Regions from separate parts of the Homo sapiens genome. Here regions 1, 2, 3 and 4 are each linked to region 5. The links are contacts of gene promoters, found by promoter capture Hi-C in blood cells and fetal thymus (Javierre and others, 2016). All regions are on one chromosome and are shown on one strand. Each heading gives the region's core, a stretch centred on a gene start or on the middle of the fragment in contact. The rest is flanking DNA. Distances are from core to core; before and after follow the strand shown.

Region 1 (2,700 bases), core at 97-2,596, 390 kb before region 5:
TCCAACCCCTCCTCCAGACACTGCGTCCCAAACACCCCCACACCTCTCACTCCAGCCACAGCGCCCGCACCAGACCCCCACTACGGTAAACTCTACTCCAAAGTTGGCTGCGGACCTACCTCCTCGGTGCTGTCCGGAGAATCCAGCAAATGTACTCCTGTCCGTTCGCCCTTCCCTCGCCGGCGTCCCCTGCCCCCTCTCCTCACCTGGCCATGCCCCAAGCTTCTGGGGAGCCTCATTCACCCCTCCGAGACCGTCCCCAGGTGCCCCGACTCCGGGGATCAAAGATAACCCCCAAAGCCTCGCAGCGGAGGCTCCCCCTGCCAACCCCTTGCCCTGGAGCCCGCAAGCGCACTCCGACGAATCCGAGACGCGTCTCGCGCTGCGCAGGAGGCCCGGCGGGTCCTGCTGCCAGCCCGGGGTGGGTACGCACCTTCCAGCCGGCAGAGCTGTTGCTGTCGCCCTTATCCTTGAAGTAGGGCACGCAACGCACCATCCACTCGTAGATCTGGGACAGAGTGAGCCGTTTGTCCGGGGAGCTCTCGATGGCGCGGGTGATCAGGTCCGCGTAGGACAGGTTTCCCCAGGCGTTCCGCCGCGACGAACATTTCCTCGGCTGCCCGGAGCCCCCAGCCGCCCCCGGCTGCGGCGGTGGCAGCGGTTGCTGAGGCTGCAGCAGCGCCTGTGTACCCCCGCTCAGCCCGCCCGCCGCGGTGGCTGGCCCAGACCCGGGGTCTTGCCCTCCGGGTGCCAGCACCCGGGCCGAGTCCTCAAGGAGCAGCCCGGAGCCCAGCGTGCCGCTCCCGCCGCCGCCGCCGATCGCCATGGCCGAGCCGGCCCGTCCCCCGCCGTCCTCGTCGTCTTCATCGTCCTCCTCCTCGGGGATCATGGAGTCGGCGGCCGTCTCCCCCGAGGGCTTGGCAGGGCTCGCTTGGAGCTCCGGCCTTTGCAGGGGCCACGTACAGGATCGCGGACGGCTCTGGGGCTCGAACTCCGGGTCCAGCTCCACTTCGAGCGGAGAGAGCGGGGCCGGGGAAGCCGGTGCCTCTGCCATCTTCGCCGCCCGCCCGCCCGCGGCTGGGGCTCTCGCGCTCTCCTCTCGCGCCGGGGCGGGGTGCAGCGGGGGAGGGACGTGGACGCCGCGAAGGCTCCGGCTCCCGGGCGCCGCCGCCGCCGCCTGGGGAAGCACCAAAGAAGAGAGAAGGAGAGTTGGTTATCCCGGGCCGGAGCCCCGTCCTCGGCGAGTCCTCGCCCGCTGCCGCCACCTCCCAGTCCTGCCGCGCCCGCCTCCCAGGAACAGGAGGACCTGAAGACGTGCGGCCAGCGAACCTGGCGCAGCAGACACCGCCCCCCGGCCAGGCCGCGATGGAGCCGCGAGCGAATCGACGGCCTCGCGCGGGGCAGCCCCCTCCCCCCGCCGCCCAGCCGCAGGTCCCTCCCGGGCTAGGCGGCGGGGCGGGGAGAAGGGGGAGGGGCGCCCGGGGGAGGGGCGGCCGCGCCTTTAAAGCGGGCAGCGGCCGGAGCTGGCGCAGCCGAGCCGCGGTCAGAGCCCGAGCTCGGGTGTGCGTGCGTTTGTTTATGTTTCGCTCGGGCCCGCTCTAGTGCCTCCCGCGGCGCCGCCGCTCAAGTCTGTGCTGTCTTCGGCTCTTCTCCCCTTTCCTAGCCTGGCCGCCTCCGCGACCCCCCGTCACCCCCCACCCGGTCGAATGGCCCGAGCCCGGGGACTGCGCGGGCAGCTCCCTCTCCCCTCTTCGCCCGCGGGCCAGAGGGCGAACGGGGGTCTGGGCGCAGATGGGCCCTTGTCACTTCCAAAAAATAAAGGAAAGACAGAAAGAAGGGGGAGCAGCAGCCCAGCGGGTGTTCGCAGAGGTTCGAGCCCGGCGGGGACGGCCACTTCGGGGTTTTGTGTGGTTTGCATTCTCGCGGACGTCGTCCCCTCCGCCCCCTTCCCAGTCGGGATCCGGGGGAGGGAGCGAGTCGGAACATAAATCTTCCAACAGGTCGGGAAGCGCCAAGTCTCCCGGGCTGCTAGAAAACCCGGACCAGCACGTTCATCACCTCCTTGCTCCCGCTGCTGCCATCTTGACAGTTTCCCCCTTCCCGAGTCCTTTAAAAACACTAGCGGGCGAGAAGGGGGGCGCGCACACCGCGGCTCAGGGAGGGGAAAGGGAAGCGCCCGGCCCAGCTCGGAAGCAGATCCGGAGTCACCGGGAAGGCGGCCGCCCGCTGCACGGCTCCGGCGCCTACCTCGCTTCCTTCCCTTCAGGGACGCGGCGGGACGACGCACGATCCCGCGCGGGCCCGGGGCACGGCGAGGAGGGGGCGCGCAACCTCGGCGAAGGAGAAGCGCTCGGGCCGTCGCCGCAGCCCGCCCGAGGAACCGCCTGTCAGCTCGCGCGCCGCCACCTTCCACATTCCTCCTCCTCCCTTCCACGAGCAGGGCGGCCGCGGCAGCAGCACAAAGTTATAGACACACGCAGGGCGCCTCAACCTAGGCTGACGGCGGGCGGGTCCCCGCCCAGGGGGAGGGCTGGGCGGCGGGCTGGGCGGCGGGCCGGGCGCGCGGCGGGCGTGCGTGTGTGAGTGCGCGTGTGTGAGCTCGCGCGCGCCTGCGCGGCCCGGCTCCGCGGGGCTGCGGGCGTGGGTGTCCGGGCGCGCGCCGTGGGCCGGGACTCGGCGGGCTCCCGCTGCTGTCCCCGC
Region 2 (2,700 bases), core at 116-2,615, 350 kb before region 5:
CCATTACTGCTCTGGTTTGAATGTTTTTGTCCCATCCAAAATTCATGCTGAAACTTACTCCACAATGCAACAGGATTAAGAGGTGTGGCCTCTAGGATATGATTGAGTCATGAGGCTCTGCCTTCATGCATGGGATTCGGTGCCTTTATACAGGATTTGATGGAGGGAGTTCACCACTTTTTGCCTTCCATTCCTTCCACCATGCGAGAACAACATTTGTGCCCTCTGGTGGCAACAAAGCAGATAGTAGCCCTCACCAAACACCCAAACCTGCTGGCTCCTTGATCTCAGACCTCACAGAACTGGAAGAAATAAATTCCTATTATTTATAAATTACCCAGACCATGGTATTTTGTTATAGCACCACATACTGACTAAGATGATTACACTGTGATGTTGACATTTATACCTGGCTGTTTGGAGCTGGTCTGTGCACCTAAGACGCTCCCCAGGGACACTGTAAAGAGGTTAGTTACGCTTTTGCTGCACAGCAGACTGCTAAGTTCAGTGCATTGCTATTCTAATTAGGCCAGTGAGTGTCCAGAACCTACATTTATTATCTTAGCATCCTGCTAGGACATTCTTCAAAAAGACTAAGATTTACATTAATATCTCTTGATTACATAAGTATTTGAATGAGTGTTCATATGTGATCATATATTGGAAACAGCTTTTATATTTTTTATATCCACTAGTTTAAATACAAAACATATTCTTTTTTTTATTATTATACTTTAAGTTTTAGGGTACATGTGCACAACGTGCAGGTTTGTTACATATGTATACATGTGCCATGTTAGTGTGCTGCACCCATTAACTCATCATTTAACATTAGGTATATCTCCTAATGCTATCCCTCCCCCCTCCCCCCACCCCACAACAAGCCCCGGTGTGTGAAGTTCCCCTTCATGTGTCCATGTGTTCTCATTGTTCAATTTCCACCTATGAGTGAGAACATGCGGTGTTTGGTTTTTTGTCCTTGCCATAGTTTGCTGAGAATGATGGTTTCCAGCTTCATCCATGTCCCTACAAAGGACATGAACTCATTTTTTATGGCTGCATAGTATTCCATGGTGTACATGTGCCACATTTTCTTAATCCAGTCTATCATTGTTGGACATTTGGGTTGGTTCCAAGTCTTTGCTATTGTGAATAGTGCCACAATAAACATACGTGTGCATGTGTCTTTATAGCAGCATGATTTATCATCCTTTGGGTGTATACCCAGTAATGGGATGCCTGGGTCAAATGGTATTTCTAGTTCTAGATCCCTGAGGAATTGCCACACTGACTTCCACAATGGTTGAACTAGTTTACAGTCCCACCAACAGTGTAAAGTGTTCCTATTTCTCCACATCCTCTCTAGCACCTGTTGTTTCCTGACTTTTTAATGACTGCCATTCTAACTGGTGTGAGATGGTATCTCATTGTGGTTTTGATTTGCATTTCTCTGATGGCCAGTGATGATGAGCATTTTTCCATGTGTCTTTTGGCTGAATAAATGTCTTCTTTTGAGAAGTGTCTGTTCATATCCTTCACCCACTTTTTGATGGGTTTGTTGTTTTTTTTCTTGTAAATTTGTTTGAGTTCATTGTAGATTCTGGATATTAGCCCTTTGTCAGATGAGTAGATTGCAAAATTTTTCTCCCATTCTGTAGGCTGCCTGTTCACTCTGATGGTAGTTTCTTTTGCTGGGCAGAAGCTCTTCAGTTTAATTAGATCCCATTTGTCAATTTTGGCTTTTGTTGCCATTGCTTTTGGTGTTTTAGACATGAAGTCCTTGCCCATGCCTATGTCCTGAATGGTATTGCCTAGGTTTTCTTCTAAGGTTTTTATGGTTTTAGGTCTGACATTTAAGTCTTTAATCCATCTTGAATTAATTTTTGCATAAGGTGTAAGGAAAGGATACAGTTTCAGCTTTCTACATATGGCTAGCCAGTTTTCCCAGCACCATTTATTAAATAGGGAATCCTTTCCCCATTTCTTGTTTTTGTCAGGTTTGTCAAAGATCACATAGTTGTAGATATGTGGCATTACTTCTGAGGGCTCTGTTCTGTTCCATTGGTCTATATCTCTGTTTTGGTACCAGTAACATGCTGTTTTGGTTACTGCAGCCTTGTAGTATAGTTTGAAGTCAGGTAGTGTGATGCCTCCAGCTTTGTTCTTTTGGCTTAGGATTGTCTTGGCAATGCGGGCTCTTTTTTGGTTCCATATGAACTTTAAAGTAGTTTTTGCCAATTCTGTGAAGAAAATCATTGGTAGCTTGATGGGGATGGCATTGAATTTATAAATTACCTTGGGCAGTATGGCCATTTTCACGATATTGATTCTTCCTACCCATGAGCATGGAATGTTCTTCCATTTGTTTGTATCCTCTTTTATTTCATTGAGCAGTGGTTTGTAGCTCTCCTTGAAGAGGTCCTTCACATCCCTTGTAAGTTGGATTCCTAGGTATTTTTTTCTCTTTGAAGCAATTGTGAATGGGAGTTCACTCATGATTTGGCTCTCTGTTTCTCTGTTATTGGTGTATAAGAATGCTTGTCATTTTTGCACATTGATTTTGTATCCTGAGACTTTGCTGAAGTTGCTTATCGGCTTAAGGAGATTTTGGGCTGAGACGATGGGGTTTTCTAGATATACAATCATGTCATCTGCAAACAGGGACAATTTGACTTCCTCTTTTCCGAATTGAATACCCTT
Region 3 (2,700 bases), core at 131-2,630, 370 kb before region 5:
AGAGAATGAGTTCACGTCACCAAGCACAGATTATCCTCGGCCCTTTGCAGTCTGTCTCACAGGAGAAGGTTTGCACTGGGAGGAAGACCTAAAGTCCACCCTCCATTCTGCTTCATGTAGGCAGAGGGAGCAGAGGGCACACGTGCAAACATGAAGGGCCGTGAGTGCTGCGCAGAGAAGCCGGAAGGTGAAGGCCAAGCTACCCCAGGCCAGGGTCCAAGAATAGGAGTGGAGGAGTGACATCTGGCCATCATCTGTGCCTCTGAGCCCCTAGCAGGTTCCTCAGGGCTGCCTCTACTCATCTTCCAGATGGAACTGAAATGCCAGCCTGAAGAATGGGAGCCTGTGACCCAGCATCTCTCTCAGAATAGGAAGGGGGTTTGAGGACAATCGTAGATAACAATTGCTGGCTAATGAATGTCTGCGCAGTGCTGGGCACTGTGAGTAATGATCTCTGATGCCCACAGCACCCTGCAAGGTTGGTATTCTTTCCCCCATTTTACGAATGGGGAGATGAAGGTTGAGCAACTTTGGCTAACACACCAGGTCACACAGCAGGTATTTAACCCGGGTCTGAATCCAAATGAAGCTGGGTGAGTGAGGAAGCCGAGCTCCATACTAACTGGGGTTTGCCTATCATGGAGCTGAGAACCTAGCCGGCCTCTCTTGATCCCAGTCCAGACCCTTCTGCCACATGTGGAGCTTGGAAAGAATGAATGAACACAGAAAGCAGGTTCAGCACTGCAGAGGATGTAAATAGGGGCAGATGCAGGCTGTCAAGTAAAGAACAGGCTGAGGACACCCTCCCTGGCCCCTGCCCCCTGGGGCATAAATTCTAGCCTTCAGGCACAGTTGAAGGGGACTGAAACTCAGTGGCACAAACTGGGGACAAACCAGAGCCTTGGAGGAGAAAGCCTTCCCCAAACCAAGTGTCAAGGTGGGTCTAGAGAGCACACACAGGCTGCAGATTCAGTTCAGTCTGAATAAGGACGGTGCCCTGGGTCACAGCAAGAAGAGGGACCTGCCTTTAGCTGTCATCAGGTTGCCGTGGGGCCCTCTAACTTATGCTATGACAAGAGCTCTGAGTGCCAATATTCTGCCTGCTCCTTCTCCATCTCCATGAAGGAGTCCCCTCCCAACCACCACAGCAAATCCTCTCTTCCTTCCTCTTTCTTTCTCTCTCTCTCTTTTTTCTTTCTTCATCTTTTTTCTTTTCTTTCCTTTTCTTTTCTTTCTTCTTTCTTTCCTTCCATCCTTTCTTTTCCTTCCTTCCTCCCTCTTTCTTTTCCTTCCTTCCTTTCCTTTTTCTTTCTTTTTCTCTTTCTCCCTTCCCCTTCCCCTTCCTTCCTCTCTCTCTCTCTCTCTCTCCCTTTTTCTTTCTCCCTTCCCCTTCCCCTTCCTTCCTCTCTCTCTCTCTCTCTCTCTCTCTCTCTCTCTCTCTCTCCCTTTCTTTCATTGATAAAGAGTCTCGCTCTGTCACCCAGGCTGGAGTGCAGTGGTGCCATCTCAGCTCACTGCAACTTCCACCTCCCAGGCTCAAGCAATTCTCCTGCCTCAGCCTCCAGAGTAGCTGGGATTACAGGCGTGCACCAGCACACCCGGCTAATTTTTGTATTTTTTGTAGAGACAGGGTTTGACCGTGAAGCCCAGGCTGGACTCTTGAGCTCAGGTGATCCACCCGCCTTGGCCTCCCCAAGTGCTGGGATTACAGGCATGAGCCACTGCACCTGGCCCCTTCTCTTCCTTATTCCCCACATGTAACTATGGGCTACAAAGTGGTGATGGTAAGGTGGGAGTTTAGCTCATCCATACATCAGCTGTCTATTTTGCCCCAGACTTAAAGTTGCTTTGTCATGGCTTGAGCATTATTTTTGTGCTGTTAAATCTAATTATGTCAGTACCACAAAAGCATAAGCAATTATTTTTAATTCTACAAACTATGTTGCTCTAATCAATAGAAATCAACTGATACTTCTTTAGCAATTGAATTTAATATTCTGCCTTTTCAAAGTTTGGTTAAAATGTGATAGGTTATTAGTGCAAAATGAGGGACACATTTTGATGATAGCAGCAGTTTTTACACTGTGCACCCTGAATTTGGGGTTCTAAAGGGGAATTGTTATGTCTTGAAGGACCAAATTATGTCTAATTTCTCTCTGAACATTCAGAAGAATAACATTCATTATAGCTCCCTCTTCTGAATTGCCAGAGCACTTTGTAATTTCTCGTTGTATGGATGACACTCGGCCCTGCACTGGTGCTCTCTCAACTCTTTTCATCTCCTGGAGACTAGGGATGGGTTTTGTTATTCTGCATCTCTCCTCCCCAGCACAGTGTTTGTCCCTCAGTCCTTTCTATGCCTTTTACTACATTTCCTGGCTGACTTGAGTGCCCTGGTCTTCCCAGGATACCTGGGCAAGGCTCTTCCTTGACACCACATTATGTCTGTCTGTTGTCCCTAAAAGATTACAAGTCTGTCATGGTGAGGGAGTTTGTCTCATTATTCTCAGTGTGCCCGGCTCCTGGCACAGAGTAGACAGCAAGTAAATGATGAATGAATGAATGAATGAATGGTGAATATCTGTACACCTTTTTTTTTTTTTTTTTTTTTGGCCAGAGTCTCACTCTATCACCCAGACTGCAGTGCAGTGACATGATCTCGGCTCACTGCAGCCTCCACCTCCTGGGTTCAAGCAATTC
Region 4 (2,700 bases), core at 19-2,518, 310 kb before region 5:
CAAATTTTGTGCCAATATCTATAAAAAGCACATGGCAAAAATAGATGAGTATTTCCCTTAATGAGACTTTTAAATCGATTCTGACTCTGTGAATGGTATTTTAAAATCTGAAATGGGCAGAGAGGAAAACACGAAGTATTTTAACATGTGAAAAGGCCAGTGAGTCTGGACGTGCCTGGATACTTACTCTCTCACACAGCTCTTCAAATGTGCAGTCGGCAACGGTTCCACAGGCTTTATTCAGGCGCAGCTCTCTGCCTTGCACTTTTAGAATCCTTGGTCTAGTTACTATGGGAACATGAACAAAGACTCAATCTTGTCTGGATAATTACTATAAAATTCATCTCTTACAGATAGGAAATGCATAGCTTGATGAATAATAGCACATGATTCAACACATAAATTAGACAAAATGCTGATACAATGACTGCCACTTGAGCGTGGCATCAACCCATATACAGCAATGGAACTTATTAATTGGTCAGTGGAGATTGGGCATTGTGTTCTAAATGTATTCTCTTTCAAGAGAAATTAACTTACGTACAATCATTTTGTTTCTGAGCCAGCTCATCAAACAACTTATCCATGACAGCCTCCACATCAGCTTCACTTGTGCTACAGTGAAAAGAATAATAGAATATGAAATTAATAACACTTGAAGCCAACATCAAACAGCTGCCTGAGACTGCTTAGCTTTTTGCCCATAAAAAAAAAGAACAGGATGTTATGCTCTAAATACAAACATTAGATTTAGAATACACTTAAAAGCAGAGAATATTAACTCTCAGGTAGATGATTCTGCCTTATTTGCATACACTGAAAGACTTCTGTGCTTCTAGCTGTTTCCAGTAATGAGACGATACAGGCAGAGTAAATCCATTAATACCATGTGTACACAATGAGAAGAAAGCTTCTGGCTCTCTCTTGCATGCAAAACAAGAGCAAATAGACAAGGCAGTCAAGCATCCAGCAAAGTATCCTTTGAAATCTCTACTGAGAGGGTACATGTGAAATTAAATATTGAAGCTGCATTTTAAAAAAATCAAGTCAAGCCACTGACTGAGAGGATCAAACCTCCAGAATTAAATTACTACCTTCGAAATGCCAACTTGATCTGCACATCAATAACTTTGTCAGACTTCTAGTATAAGGACAATTATAGACCACACAGTTTCTCTCAAAAGTCTCCTTGTTGGAAATTGAAGAAAACTCTCTCCTTCTGTGATGCCCACTGTTACAGCTACTATGAAGTTAGTCTCATCACAGAATCTTTTGTATTCTAATTAGAAATCACCATATGGTTTAGGGAACTCATATATAAATGAGATGATGCTATGGCCTTTTTCCTCTCGCCTTTTTTTTTTAAGAGGGGTGGTAAATTAACAGTCAATAAAATAACTGGCAGAAGAAATAAACTGTTAAAAAGAGCTTCAAGTAAAAATGTAAGTTTACTTCAACTCCACATACAAACTTTTACAGGTTGACCTGCCAATATGCTTAATTTTGACACACAGATCACTCTTACGTAGTAGTGGAAGCAATTAAACTAAATTCTGGACATCCATCTTACTAAAGTCTTATTGAAAATTAGTGTGACAGGTTATCTTTTATTTAGATTAAGCTTAAACTAAACAAATTCTCCCTTGAGATAATTATCAGGTGGTAGGCATTTAATACACAAGCACCCAATTCTTCAACTGTTCTAGAGCAAATGTCTTTAAAATGCAACAAAGCATATAGTTATTATGAAAAGTTTGAAATTGTCACATTCCAAGTAATAACCACTCCACCTCAAAGGACATTAAAAACATCATTTGCAATGGTCAACTTTGCAGGAGAAATGCTATTTGACTTCCATGAGGTCTAGTGTCATATTCAAATAGAGTGGTATTAAAATAATGAAATGACACTATAGAAAGTAATTTTAGAGACAGAAACAATCTTAAAGGAAAAAGAAATCACACAAACCAATGTAAATGTCAATGGTCATGCCAAGCACATGTCTGTTTAGACATTATTCTTGAGAATTCATTTGGAACCAACACCACCTTTGGTGTATACAAGCAAAAAAAGAAAAAAAAGAGCTTAAAAGTAAGCTACTTTTGAGCCCATATAGCCAAGACAATCTTAAGCAAAAAGAACAAAGCTGGAGGCATCACGCTAGCAAACTTCAAACTATACTGCAAGGCTACAGTAACCAAAACAGCCTGGTACTGGTACCAATACAGACACATAGACCAATGGAACAGAACAGAGATCTCAGAAATAAGACCACACATCTACAACCATCTGATCTTTAAGAAACCTGACAAAAACAAGCAATGGGGAAAGGATTTCCTGTTTAATAAATGGTGCTGGGAAAACTGGCTAGCCATATGCAGAAAACCAAAACTGGACCCCTTCCTTATGCCTTATATAAAAATTAACTCAAGATGGATTAAAGGCTTAAATGTAAAACCCAAAACCATAAAAACCCTAGAAGAAAATCTAGGCAATATCATTCAGGACATAGGCATGGGCAAAGATTTTATGATGAAATCACCAAAAGCAATTGCAATGAAGGCAAAAATTGACAAATGGGATCTAATTAAACTAAAGAGCTTCTGCACAGCAAAAGAAACTATCATCAGAGCGAAGAAACAACCTACAGAATAGGAGAAAGTTTTGTAATCTACCCATCTGACAAAGGTTTAATATCCA
Region 5 (2,700 bases), core at 158-2,657:
GCAGGCCGCGCACTCCTGCCTCTGCTGGGCTCCGGCTCGAAAAGTCCTTGGGATTAGGGATTTGGTCCTCTCTTTGCTAGAGTGGTTCGCCATACTTTAAATTCCCCAGTTATGACCTACGCGGATTTAGGATTAAGGAAAATGTGACTTTTAAATTGTTTCTGCTTCCCAGTTTGCAGGATTATTTGAAATAGCTAGAAACGGGGTGCAAAGCATTCCATTCAAAATCCGCTTTGCACAGAGTTGCTTTTGCGCGCTGGAGCTCGGAGTTTTGAGCGAGTGTGTTATTGTGCTACCGCCTGGAGCTGCGGCCCAGTTCCCGCCCCCATGGCCCCCCCATCCAGCACCTGGCGGCTAAATGGAGACAACTCATCCGACTGGTGGGCTGCGCGGGTCGTAACCTTCTCACCGCACCAGACAGGGGGGATCAAGCAATCCAGAGGCAACGAAACGGCTCTCCCCTCTCCACGAAATGCTCCAACTCACGGTCTACAGGTCTGGGCCGAACGCACACGCCCGCTGGAATCCCTCTCAGGGGCTCAGATTCGCAGCGCTCCAGGCAGGACCTCCCCCAGCCTCCCCGCTCGCTCGCCCCAGGCTGCGCGCCTAGGCCCCACGGCGGCCCGAGAGGTACCCACTTGTTGATCCGGCTGGCTTGCTCATGCTGGCTGTCCCGGGGCGGAGCGGTTGGTGGGCGCTGCCCGAGTCCCGGCCGGCAGCGCCCGCCTCGCCGCCGGGCGCCGCCGCTCTCCAGCTGCCCTCCAGCCTGCAAGGCTCCTGGGCGGGACAGGTGGGTGTCAGTCGCGCGCTGCGCTGCTCCCTGGGCGCTCAGAATTCGTCCAACAGTGGAAATTTAAGCATCCTTAAGTTTCTTCCCGGCTCTTGCAAAACCGCAGCTGCTGGGAATGCTGCTTGATATGGACACACACATGGACAGACAGATGGAGAGATGGACAGGAAGACTGAGGAAGAAGGAAGAACAGCAAGAGAGGGATGTTGAAAGACAGAGATGGAGACACGAAAATGGCCTTCCTACGGAGCGAAATCCCTCTTTTTCCCCATTCCTGTCACTCAGTCTTCGATCTCTCCCTCTACATAGGCATGCAGAGTGTGGGCAATCTCTGCCGACCGCTGGTCTCCCAAGGAAAGAAGGAAAACACTACCGCAGTCTCAGAGGCAGACGGGCTCCGCGCTGCCGGAACCCAAGCGCAGAGTGGGAAAACTAGATTGCTGGGAAATCTTCCGAGGGAAGAGGCGGCCAGGTCCGGGTTTCCGGGGAGAGCCGCGCACGCAGCGGCGAAGGGTCCCCGAAGTTCATTACCCCGTGACTTTGTGCCTGTCGCTGCGGGCTGGGTCCCCTGTAATATCTCCAGAAGCGCTCTGACAGGCAGCCGCGGGGAGGGGAATAGGGCGTCCCTGGCCCACTTAGCTTTTCCCCCAACTCCTGGCGGGGTCTGACGTCAGCCATGTGCGGGGAGGGGATGGGAAGAGGGAGGGGGTTAAATGCTAATGATATTAATGAACCTCCAAGCGGCTCCCAAAGAAAATGCAGGCGCTGTCGGAGCTTACGAGTTAGAAAGTGTGAATATGGGAGTGTGGCTCTGTGCGTGCGTGATGGTGAGGACGGTGCGGCTCGTAATAAAAATGAATTCGTATATTTCACGGCAAGAAGGAAGGGGAGGGGTGACGGGGCTTTCTCAAAACGCTTTTCCCCCTCTCTCCAGAGTGCCAGATAGATTCGCGGAAGAAATTGGGTGGCTGTGTGCTGGCGTGTGATTGTGCGCGCCGGACATGGCCATGTGAGTTGGTTCATTCTTGGTCCGGTGCCCCTTCTGTTGGGTAAAACTTGGATCTGGCCCGAGGTGAGTAATTTACTCATTTTGCACATATCTACGGAAAGTCAGGGCTGAGGATGGGGTCTTCTGGAGGTTCCGCGTTCCTTCGGCCTTCGCGCAGTGGGTTTGGGCACCAGCCGAGGGGAGGATGCCGCCAGCTTCCCCAAGCAGAGCTGGCCCATCCGACGCTGAGCGAATCTCTTGTCGCCTCCATTATCTGCACCGGGGCGGCTGGAGGGCAGAGCGTTCCCTCCCGCCGCTCGTCCTCGGCGGGCGTTGCGGGCTCCCGCTCTCCGGGCGGAGGAATAGTGAAGAGAGGCCCTCATCCCCTACCCCCTCCCCATTCCGCTTGCCTTCCCGCGATTCCTGAGCTCTCTCGCGCCTTGCTCTGTGCGCGGCGCTGGGAGAGCGCATGCCGAGGGAGCGATGATCCCCGATCTCTAAGAGATTAATTCTATTTAAGCTCTCTCGGCAGCTTGAACTTGTCGAACAAGAGCTTGCCAGTCCCTCCTCAGGGCGTGGACCCGGCCAGAGGTCAGAGGTTACACCTCCCGCCCTCCGCTCGACGTTCGCGGGGAGGGGAGCTGTGGCCGGCGCTCTGCAATTCCGCCAGCCCACCCCCCGGTCCCTCTTTCTCCAGACTCGGTGTCATCCCGGGCTTTCAATCAGAGTTCGCCTGTGCGTGCAAGTGAATGCTGGAGTCCCCCGAGCCCTGGGAGGGCGCAGCAGGTCCTCCGCCTGGGCGTCCCAGGGGGAGCGGGCTGTGCGCTCCAGTGGGCTCCGACAGCACGTGATTGCAACTTTCTGCCCAGCCTTGGCTCGGCCTCGAGCTCGGGGTCTCGCACACCACACACACCAGAGCCTG

What was found. Contacts are between HindIII fragments. The CHiCAGO score rates a contact against its expected background, and 5 or more counts as called.
Region 1: the fragment with the promoter of FOXO3 here is called in contact with the fragment with the promoter of NR2E1 in region 5 in 3 of 17 cell types (naive B cells, total B cells and megakaryocytes); the score reaches 11.0 in naive B cells.
Region 2: a contact is called between a fragment that was not itself captured here and the fragment with the promoter of NR2E1 in region 5, in 2 of 17 cell types (megakaryocytes and endothelial precursors). The highest score is 9.0, in megakaryocytes.
Region 3: a contact is called between a fragment that was not itself captured here and the fragment with the promoter of NR2E1 in region 5, in 1 of 17 cell types (megakaryocytes). The highest score is 8.5, in megakaryocytes.
Region 4: a fragment that was not itself captured here is called in contact with the fragment with the promoter of NR2E1 in region 5 in 3 of 17 cell types (megakaryocytes, endothelial precursors and M1 macrophages); the score reaches 8.8 in megakaryocytes.

What each region holds. Positions count from the first base shown.
Region 1 is chr6:108,559,563-108,562,262 of GRCh38, reverse strand. It overlaps FOXO3 (forkhead box O3), which reads right to left and starts at 1,346. Exons shown (of 3, transcript NM_001455.4): 1 at 434-1,346. The coding sequence starts at 1,054. RefSeq lists an enhancer at 369-869 and silencers at 1,313-1,532, 2,512-2,581, 2,622-2,700. The HindIII fragment of the contact is 5,662 bases long and covers 225-2,700 here.
Region 2 is chr6:108,516,677-108,519,376 of GRCh38, reverse strand. The region is part of intron 11 of AFG1L (AFG1 like ATPase); the gene reads right to left. Among named protein-coding and RNA genes, the nearest start is that of FOXO3, 43 kb to the left of the region's middle. The HindIII fragment of the contact is 3,442 bases long and covers 1-2,700 here.
Region 3 is chr6:108,532,709-108,535,408 of GRCh38, reverse strand. No RefSeq gene overlaps it. Among named protein-coding and RNA genes, the nearest start is that of FOXO3, 27 kb to the left of the region's middle. The HindIII fragment of the contact is 8,447 bases long and covers 1-2,700 here.
Region 4 is chr6:108,474,780-108,477,479 of GRCh38, reverse strand. AFG1L (AFG1 like ATPase) reads right to left here. Exons shown (of 13, transcript NM_145315.5): 9 at 545-615; 10 at 188-288. The region is part of intron 2 of LOC124901370 (a long non-coding RNA gene); the gene reads left to right. Among named protein-coding and RNA genes, the nearest start is that of FOXO3, 85 kb to the left of the region's middle. The HindIII fragment of the contact is 711 bases long and covers 913-1,623 here.
Region 5 is chr6:108,164,729-108,167,428 of GRCh38, reverse strand. NR2E1 (nuclear receptor subfamily 2 group E member 1) reads right to left here and starts at 1,407. Exons shown (of 9, transcript NM_003269.5): 1 at 639-1,407. The coding sequence starts at 663. RefSeq lists enhancers at 1-562, 1,463-2,364. The HindIII fragment of the contact is 9,879 bases long and covers 1-2,700 here.